Linked DNA regions of Homo sapiens: all the other regions are linked to region 3. The links are contacts of gene promoters, found by promoter capture Hi-C in blood cells and fetal thymus (Javierre and others, 2016). All regions are on one chromosome and are shown on one strand. Each heading gives the region's core, a stretch centred on a gene start or on the middle of the fragment in contact. The rest is flanking DNA. Distances are from core to core; before and after follow the strand shown. Region 1 overlaps ANKRD44 (ankyrin repeat domain 44). Region 2 overlaps ANKRD44 (ankyrin repeat domain 44). Region 3 holds the start of MOB4 (MOB family member 4, phocein).

Region 1 (3,473 bases), core at 857-3,356, 440 kb after region 3:
ATCTATATCCAAAACAGTGGAATAGACAATTTTTTATGATAAGATGTTCCATTTTTTTTGTAATGTGGCAGAAAAAATTTTGGGGGCTTTACCATGAATGAATTTGGCAGCTGATGAAAGAACAATTCAACAGGATGTGTTAAAATAGAACATTTCAGTTTTGCCTTCAGTTGAGGGCCTAGGACACTGGGGCATTGCCTCCACATTTCAAAGTGAGATACTGGTGCTTCAACTCATGGCCCCCTTCCCCATTTCTAAAGTCACAGTTGGAAAGAACAAGAAGTTAGAGATTAGAGAGAAGGCTTCTTTGGAGCTAGCTCTGCTGTGAATTCTACCACCCCTCATAGTGGAGGAGATAGAATGCCTTCTCTTGACCCCAACCTTAAGGGAGGGAAGCTTCAGGGAGATTGCTTAGATATCTTATTTGTGTCCCACACAATTTAGGGAGCATGCCAGACTGGTATATGATAAATCTGAAGACTAAATGGCTCTGACCAGAACTTGCTGGCCAGGCAGCTAAATAAGAAGAAGGCTGTGTTTGGGAAATCACTCCACTCTCAGAAATGATGGGTCAAAGTATATATTTCCCAATGTCCAAATGTGAGCCAAGGGCCAGAGCTAGCCTGGGGTTCTCCTTGATCCCACTCGGGAAGGCTGCGTGGAAGAGTCAGGAGACCCAGGATTCCTAGTGTGGAGAGGGGAATATAAGTTACCAGCAGGAAGGTCCATTCACCCAGGCAGAGGCACTGCAGGTGAGACACCCCAGTGATGGTGGAGAACCTAATTCAGCATCTAAGAGAGGGACAATTGTAAACATCTGGCCTGGTCAGAAGACATCACTGCCAGAAGGGTGCCAGTCAGACCATTGTCCCTGCTCCTAATGTGTCTTCCTTTGCCTATCCCCTTTAGAACTGGAGGAGGCAGAGGCAGATGAGGAGGAGGAGAAGCCCTAGGTTGGGGAACAGAGAAGTCAGCCATGTCTCGTTACCCACTCAGTCTTTAGGGGAAGGCGGGAAGGAGTTTTAATAAGTTTAACAATGTTAGGAGTCTGTGATTGTCATACTGGAACAGATGTATTGATTGCTGACATGAAGTTATGTTTTAAACTAAAGTGCCTAGAGAACTCTTTATTATTTGTTGGAGATTTTGCATGAAGTGGCAGGAAAAGAAGTAACCTCATAAAGGAGATCGGACCTAGTATAGGGAAAAAGAGAATAAATGTATTATTTGATTATATCCATGACTCGCTGGTTCAGTAAATAGCTAAACACTTAGTCATTGTTTCAGGAAAAAATTAATGCTGAGCTCTAAGGAAAAATAAACTATTATCCTTTAAACATTTGCGGATTTAAATATCAACTTATAAGGCATTAGGTTCTAATACTGTCAGGCACTTATCAGGTGCCAAAAGTTGTTGAACAAGTGAAATACACTGTGAGTGACTAAGCTTTATTTAGTGATAAAACATCAATGCTAATTTTTAAGTATATAGCAACTGTCCTGTTTGTTAGGAAGGTATTTCATAGAAGATGGCAGGTGAGAAAAGAAATGAAAATTTGCCTTTCTGTGGCCTGGACTTTTCTTTAGATTTGATTACTTTCCAATACCAGCTCATTTTATTGCAACTGGTCCTCCATGTTTTCTTCTTCAATAAAAACCTATACTAACATGTCAAACTGGTATAAAGACATCACATACACACACATACACATATGTGCACACATTTCTCTGTAATTTCTTCCAGATGGATAGGGAGCACTAAGAGGTTCAAGGAATAGGAATTATTGCTTCTGATGTGGAAACTTCTAAGGACTCAGTGATGTCAGAAAAAGGAAGATTTTTTGTTTTAAAGAGAAGGCAGTTTACAAGTCAACCAAAAAAATAAGTTAATCTGGCCCACCCTCCTTTCCTCCCCCTACCCTCCCTCCTCCTTTCTTCCTTTTCCTTCCTTCCTTCCTTCCTTCCTTCCTTCCTTCCTTCCTTCCTTCCTTCCTTCTTTCCTCCCTCCATCCCTCCCTCCCTCTCAGTCACAAACCCACTAGGGAAGCCTGAGCAGAGCAGGAAGGCAGCCCAGTTGGCACTGAGGCCGCAGGAGGGAAGTCAGGAAGGCAGCCTAGTAAGGGTTGGAACCCCACTCAAGGAGAGTGTCCTAAATATGTATGCCCCAAACAACAGAGCTACAATATATGTGAAGCAAAAACTGTTAGAATTGAAAAGATAAACAGAAATACACAATTATAGTGGGAGACTTTAGCACCTCTCTCTCAACAATTGGTAGAACAATGAGACTGAAAATTGTCAAGTATATAGAAAAACTCAATAACATAATCAACCAAGAGGATCTGATCAACAATAAGAACACTCTACCCAGCAACATGAGAATACATATTTAGTTCAAGTGCCCATGAACATTCACAAAGATAAGCAATATCTTGAACCATAAAACAAAATTCAAAAAACATAAAAGAATTGAAATCATATAGAGCGTGTTTTCTAGCCATAATGGGATAAAACTAGAAATCAATAACAGAAAGATACCAGGAAAATCTCCAACACTAGGAAATTAAAACCAGACTTGTAAATAATTCATGAGTTAAAAGGAAAGCCTCAAGAGAAATTCAAAAAATATCTTGGACTGAATGAAAATGAAAGTACAACAAAGTGAAATTTGGGGACTCAGCTAAATTATGCTGAGAAAGAAATTTTTAGCACAAAATGGTTACATCAGAAAAGAGGAAAGTCTCAAGTCAGTAATCTAAGCTTCTACCTCAAGAATCTGGAGAGAGCAAATTAAACTCAAAATAAGCAGAAAATTGATATAAAGATGGAGGCAGAAATAAATGAAATTGAAAACCAGTGAAGAAATTCAATGAAACAAAAATCTGGTTCTTTGAAAAATCAGTAACATTGACAAACGTGTAGCTAAGAAAAAGAGAGAGGAAACATAAATTAACAATATCAGGAATGAAATAGGGGATATCCCCATATACCTTACAGATATTAAAAGGATAAAGGAATATTATGAATAACTCTGCATACATTGACAACTTGATAAAATAGACTCATTCATTGAAAAACACAAACTACCACCATTTACCCAGTATGAAGTAGATCATTTGAATAGCCCTTTAACTATTCAGAAAATTAAATTTTAAAACTTCCCCTAAAGAAATTTCCAGGCATGGATGATTTCACTGGAGAATTCTACCAAATACTTAAAGAATTAACATAATTCTACACAGTCTTTTCTGGAAAATAGAATACAAGAGAATACTTTCCAATTCATTTATGAAGGTAATACCTTGATATTAAGTACCAAAGACACACACACACACACAGAGAGCGAGAGCGAGCACAATGTCTTTCATGAACATGAATGCAAAAATCTTTACAAATTACCAAATAGAATTCAGTGATACATGCAGAGAATTATATACCATGACTAATGGAATTTATTACAGGGATGCAAGCCT
Region 2 (3,167 bases), core at 199-2,698, 510 kb after region 3:
TTGAAGTCCAAATAAATGTCACTTGGGGCCAGGCACGGTGGCTCATGCCTGTAATCCCAGCACTTTGGGAGGCCAAGGCAGTCAGATTGCTTGAGCCCAGAAGTTCAAGACCAGCCTAGGCAACATGGTGAAACCCCATCTCTACTAAAAATGCAAAAATTAGCGGGTGTGGTGGTGCATGCCTATAATCCCAGCTACTCGGGAGGCAGAATAATCACTTGAACTCGGGAGGCGGAGGTTGCAGTGAGCCAAGATCATATCATTGCACTCCAGCCTGGACGACAGAGTGAGATTCTGTCTCAGAAGGTCACTTGGTGGCTCATGCCTGTAATCCCAGCACTTTGGGAGGCCGAGGCTGGCGGATCACCTGGGGCTAGGAATTCGAGACCAGCCTGGCCAAGATGGTGAGACCCTGTCTCTACTAAAAATGCAAAAATTAGCCAGGCATGGTGGTGCATGCCTGTAATCCCAGCTACTCAGGAGGCTGAGGCAGGAGAATAGCTTGAACCTGGGAGGTGGAGATTGCAATGAGATGACATCGCCCCACTGCACTCCAGCCTGGCGACAGAGCAAGACTCCATCTCAAAAAAAAGAAAAAGTCATTTGGAAGAGATATGTGTAGTGTTGTTCTGTTAAAAGACTGTCCACTGTTTTCTTTTTCAGTAATTAATGGTCACACACTGTGTTTACGGCTGTTGCTAGAAATTGCAGACAACCCGGAGGCGGTCGATGTGAAAGATGCCAAAGGACAGTAAGTGCGCTCACACGTGGCCTTGGGTTGACATTTCAATCACAGCAGCTACCTGGTTGGTTTCTTAAATCATTACAAGGCTGACTGCGGAACCGAGAAATTGGAGGAATATATTTGGACCAGGACCAATACACAATGAGGTGGCTTTAAGTCACAGTGCGTATATCCAAGAAAAGCATGAAGGAGTGGGTGTGCACATGTCTTGATGAAAGGATCACCTTTTTAAGGGCTGTGGCCATGTTTCCCGGCTCTTATTTATATTCTCTCCTTTGTTCCCTCTTTCCGCCCATTTTTACCTTCTTCTGAAGCTGCTACACCATTGCCATTTTCTAATTAATAAATAGGACAGACCTCATGAGGTTATCTCTATTATTAAAATCCTTCAGATGCCTTTTCTTCCTCAACTTTGCTTTTTCAAAGTAATTTCCTTCTGTTGGCATATTCCCCACCTAATCTTCTCTTACAAATAGGAAATGCAGAGCAAAAGTCAGCAGTGACTAGCCCCAGGCATGTGAATCAGTGTGATAGTCAGAATCTCACCTCCCTCTTGCATCACAACACTTCATTCTTTCCCGGAGACTTGACAGACTTTTCTTTAGGGAAAGAAGCTTTGTGTAAATGAAATCTTTAGCAGAAGTCCAACATAGAATACTACAAAGTAGAGCTGCTCTGATGGAAGCAAGAGGGGCTTCTGCATACACATACTCCCCGCCCTTGATATCTAGTAAATGCTACATGGATCTGAAAATGATGGGATTAACATGAATATTTTGAAAAGGAAGCTTCCCCTGCCTCATCCCTAGGGATCATTCCACTAACAACATTCCATGTGGCCATTAGAGCAGAGGCAGATAGCTTGTTCTGCATATTGTATAGCAAACTGGGGACACTTAGAAAATATTAAGAAATTGTCAAAAGGAGAGGGGAAGAGAATGGGAGAAAGAGAATGTCTTCCTACTGGTAGTGATGAATATTTTTTTAAATCTCCTTTTTAAAAGCCTGCTTTATCTCTCTGCCTAGAACACCACTGATGCTTGCAGTAGCATATGGACATATTGACGCTGTTTCATTGTTACTTGAAAAGGAAGCCAACGTAGACACTGTTGACATCCTAGGATGCACAGCTTTACACAGAGGGGTATGTACATCTTTCTCAGCTCTAGTCAAGCAATTTTTTTAATGAGCTTGTTTTCTTTTTTAGCAAACAATTACAAAGGGCCTACTTTGATTGGATTTTTAGCAAAAAATGTTTAGCAAAAATTGTTTCCTAATACAACCAATTAACCTTATTCAGTCCAAAAGAAATTACAAAATCCTTGGCAAAGGCAAAATAATGGAAGGTTTTGCTCTTAAGATTTCATGTTAGATTGTGATAATAGATGCATGAACACCTACTGCTGGTGAAATTGGTTCTGCTTTCTGACTACAAAATACAAGTATATCATAGAAAATTTGCAGAATATTTTTTTTTAAAGCCCAGAGAAGAAAATCACAATCACCAGTAATCATACCTCCTGGAGATAACCACTATTTGATGTATATTATCTCCAATCTTTTTTCTATATATAGATTTGTTTTAGATTTTAAAAAGAGAATACTGAAGATATCATTTGGATTCTGCTTTTTTCTCTTAGTATATCAAGGATCTTTTTTCATTTCATTTTTTTCTGCATCATGATTTTTAATGCCTCATTGTGTTCAAGTGTCATAGTTTATTTCAATGATTACCTGGTTTTCAGTAGTTATGCAATTTCTAATTGTTTGTCCTTACAAATAATGCCAAAATATGTATCCTGTGGGCAATTATTTGCACACATCTGTTGAAGTGTTTGGTTTTTTTTTTTTAATCTCACTCTTATCACCCAGGCTGGAGTGTAGTGGCACAATCTCAGCTCACTGCAACCTCCACCTCCCAGGCTCAATGATCCTCCCACCTCAACTCCCCCCAGTAACTGGGACCACAGGTGCATGCCAGCATGCCCAGCTAATTTTTGTATTTTCTGTTGAGATGGGGTTTTGCCATGTTGCCCAGGCAGGTCTCAAACTGCTGGGCTCAAGTGATCCTCCTGCCTCCACCTCACAAAGTGCTGGGATTACAGGCATTAGCCACTTGCACCCTCTGAACTGTTTTTTAAAGCATGCCAAATAAACTAAGTAAACACAAGCAGAAATCATAAAATTGCTATTTTGGGCTGGTACCAAGTACACTGATAAATGAAGAGAAGAGGAACGCTATGTGATCATTGTCACAGTCATAGTTTTTATTTCTCAGTTGCTTCCTGTGTGCTGTACAACAAGCTGAGAGCCTTTGCATCTGTTATCTCAGTCCTCACAACGTCCTCTGAAGTTGTTATTACTATTCTTATATATAGGTGAATAGAGTGAGGGATGGAGAGGCGAACTGACCTGTCACAGG
Region 3 (3,279 bases), core at 393-2,892:
ATTTTTTATCCTTTTTCTGTTATATTTTATCTAACAACCTTGATCCATGACAATGTGAAAAAAAAAGACAATAAGTTTTCTTCTATGTGACTTACAGCAACATAGCAAGTATGTTACGATATTAAATATTTTATTTTCTAACCTTTCAAAATTAAGAACTTATGAATAAATGAGATGACTCTCAGAATATGAACAGAAAAGTCTACTTCTGAACATAAAAATGTAATCAGAAACAATGTTTCCACAGAATAAGATGTAAAGGTATCTGAGAAAAGAGCATGAGGAAGAAAAGTGTGGAAACGGTAAAAAGCAAGCATATGTAACGGATAAATTTCCAGTAGTATGAAAACAAAACTGTCAGTAGGAATAACTGACAGCTTAATGTGACTCCAAAATAAGACTTTAAAATTTTCTCTGAAATTCAGCACTAGAAGCAGCTTGTTAAAGAGAACAGGTCACCAGTGAATTAAGAATCAGGAGACTATGTATCCTTGGGCAAATCCACTTAATTCTCTTGGGCTTCAGTTTCCTTATCTGTAACATGAATCTGGGGAGGTAATCAATACCTGTATGCCCCCTTCGAAAGGTGTTCTTTCCATAATTCTGTATAAGAAATTAAAATCTATTCTCAGACATACAATCATAGCTCCACGATTGTTTTGTTTCAATTTTCATTTGCATCACTTTTTAACATTTTATAAACACATCTCTTCCGATTTCAGAGCATCTAGTCTATAGCAAGCCATTTCGGCTAGCAATTAATCAGTTCAAGTCTGGATGCCAATTTTATTTATTTATTTTTAATGTGAGGCATCCCATCTTTTCCAAACCCTAAGAAACAATGCCTAATCAAGCACCAATTTACCACACATAATGCCCTACAAAAAAGCTGACAAAATTATAATCAGTTCATTCTCTGACTATGCTTCACGCATATTAGCAAGGAATGACATCTAACAAGTCACAACTTAGTGATGAAAACTTGCTGGACCAGAGAACAGCTCCAGGGAAAGCGGCAGGGAGAGGTGGTCAAAGGGAAACAAGGAGGAGAATATCGGCACCCGGATCCGGCTAGACAAGCTGGATGGCAGGAAACGGGTAGGTACTTCCCAGGCCAGGTAGGAACTGGACGCCGGGTCGAGGTAGGCTGTGTTTACACCCCCTCCCACCTCAGCGGCCCCGACCTTCAGGAAACCCCGGGGGTCTCCACCAGGCTGGTCGCGCCCCTCCAATGCTAGTCAGCTGGGGCTCAGGGGCAAGGCGAGAAGAAGCCGTTGCTGCTGACAGGCTCGCAGCCCAGGGCTTCGGCAGGCAGGTACCACCAGCAGACCCCACCCGCCCCTCACGCCTACCCCTGGGTCGGAGCTCCGCAGGCCTCACGGCGGCCGCCACCGCCTCAGCCAAATTGAGGGGCTGCAGCTCCGGAAGAGCAGGCCGGGCACCAGTGCCCCAGCCCGCCCGCCTGCCGCCTCGGCCCAACCTCCCCGCAGTGGCGGCCAGCTTCCGGGCGCAGCACTGCTCGGCACCTAGTTGCCCGACAAGAAAAGTGCAGACATGGTACCTGCGCCTTGGTGCCCGGCCTGTTCCGCCTCAGCACTGCCGTCCCCTCCGCCATGACCATAGTGCCAGCGTCTAGGCGGCTGGAGTCGGTACCCGGATGTAGGGACGGCAGCCTGCGCGGGGGGCGGGGCAGAGCGGCGCTCTGCGTCTGGGAGGAGGAGCGGCAGCTGACGGAACAGCTGCAGCCTGCGCCGGGAGCCGTCCGGGTAGAAGCGGGCTAGGCGGAGGGAGAGGGCGAACGAGGAACAGCCGGACGGCGTCGGGTGGCTACTGGCAGGGACTGAGGCACCGGAAGGCGGGCGCCACGAGCCTCTTTGCGAGGGCTGCGGGGCGGTTTGAAAGGTCGTGATCGCAGCGACCGCTGCGGCAGTGTGCACGGCTGCGTTGCACGTTGGTATGGGCTCTCGTTAGTTACACGGGAAGAACGAACTTCGTATAGTGGCGACCGTTTCAGTAAACCCACCTGCAAGCAAATACTTAGAGAACCGTAATTCTGTCCCAGAAGCCACCTAAGGAATCAGGGTAGAAAACAGGCCAGCAGTCTTGGCAAATTCTATAGAACCTGCGTGAAATCGACCCAATCTGAAATCAGACGGGGGATTTGAGTGTCAGTGTTATTTACGCCATCCGGCGACTTCAAAGCCAAGGACTTTTTCAATGACAAGTTTGTTTACGTAGATAAAAGACGCAGATGTCAATTATGTGAGATGAAGAGTGGACATCTGGTTTTGTGCGTTAGGCAGACAGATTTAGCTCGTGTTTTTCAAGTCAGAAGCAGGAGGAGGAAATTAGTAGTCCTTGACAGGTGGTGAGGGTTTTACATCTTACAGGATTCCACATTTCCTTTGTTGCAAATTTTAAGTGTTCTCTCTTAAGAAACCACAGCATTTTCGCAAACTTTTTTTCCTGCTTAGAAACCTTGAATCTTTTATCTGGGGTGAGGGAGGCCTTGGGATAGCAGATGGGAAGACAGTTCAAAAAGTAAAAAACGCATACAGTAGCATGATTTCCAAAAGAAGAAAACATCAAGTGTCCCTAGATAGAAGGTGTATTGAGAATGCTGAGGGAAGGGCCATGTAACAGCTTCCAGAAATGGAATTTGAGAGGAGAGGAGAGGTTGAGTGGGTCTCTAGCTGAGTAATTGTCAGTGACTTAGAACTAGGCATTGAAGGGTTTAACAACAGGAAGTTGGTTCTCTCTGGAAGATGTATTGACTGGTAACTCTTCAAGAATAGGGACTTAATTTTGCCCTCCCAGAACCAGCGTCTACATATGAAAAGATTATTCGTTCAACAGATACTCATTAAGCCCCACTATATGGTAGGCACTAATGTACAAGTATGATAAGGCTCAGTCCTTCACTACAAATTGCCTTGACTCCAGCAACAGAGACGTGCAAATCACAAATTCTTATACAGGTTAAGTACCCCTCATCTTAAAGTTTGGGACCAAAACACTTTCAGATTTCTGATTATTTTGGATTTTAGAATATTTGCATATACATAATGAGATTTCTTGGGGATGGAACCTAAGTTTAAATGTGAAATGCATTTGTTTCCTATACACCTTACACACATAGCCTGAAGTTACTTTTATACAATACTTTAAATAGGCCGGGAGCGGTGGCTCACACCTGTAATCCCAGCACTTTGGGAGGCTGAGGGGGGCAGATCACTTGAGGTCAGGAGTTCCAGACCAGCCTGGCCAACATGGTGAAAT

Evidence for each region. The method cuts DNA at HindIII sites, captures the fragments that hold promoters and counts their contacts. A CHiCAGO score of 5 or more calls a contact.
Region 1: a fragment that was not itself captured here is called in contact with the fragment with the promoter of MOB4 in region 3 in 1 of 17 cell types (total CD4 T cells); the score reaches 5.8 in total CD4 T cells.
Region 2: a contact is called between a fragment that was not itself captured here and the fragment with the promoter of MOB4 in region 3, in 2 of 17 cell types (total B cells and total CD4 T cells). The highest score is 5.9, in total B cells.

Annotation. Positions count from the first base shown.
Region 1 is chr2:197,070,570-197,074,042 of GRCh38, reverse strand. All of the region lies in intron 16 of ANKRD44 (ankyrin repeat domain 44), which reads left to right. Among named protein-coding and RNA genes, the nearest start is that of ANKRD44-AS1, 130 kb to the left of the region's middle. The HindIII fragment of the contact is 1,313 bases long and covers 1,450-2,762 here.
Region 2 is chr2:197,006,528-197,009,694 of GRCh38, reverse strand. It overlaps ANKRD44 (ankyrin repeat domain 44), which reads left to right. Exons shown (of 28, transcript NM_001195144.2): 19 at 664-751; 20 at 1,772-1,889. Among named protein-coding and RNA genes, the nearest start is that of PGAP1, 81 kb to the right of the region's middle. The HindIII fragment of the contact is 174 bases long and covers 1,362-1,535 here.
Region 3 is chr2:197,514,429-197,517,707 of GRCh38, reverse strand. It overlaps MOB4 (MOB family member 4, phocein), which reads right to left and starts at 1,642. Exons shown (of 8, transcript NM_015387.5): 1 at 1,562-1,642. The coding sequence starts at 1,621. All of the region lies in intron 2 of HSPE1-MOB4 (HSPE1-MOB4 readthrough), which reads right to left. RefSeq lists a silencer at 1,584-1,803. The HindIII fragment of the contact is 18,120 bases long and covers 1-3,279 here.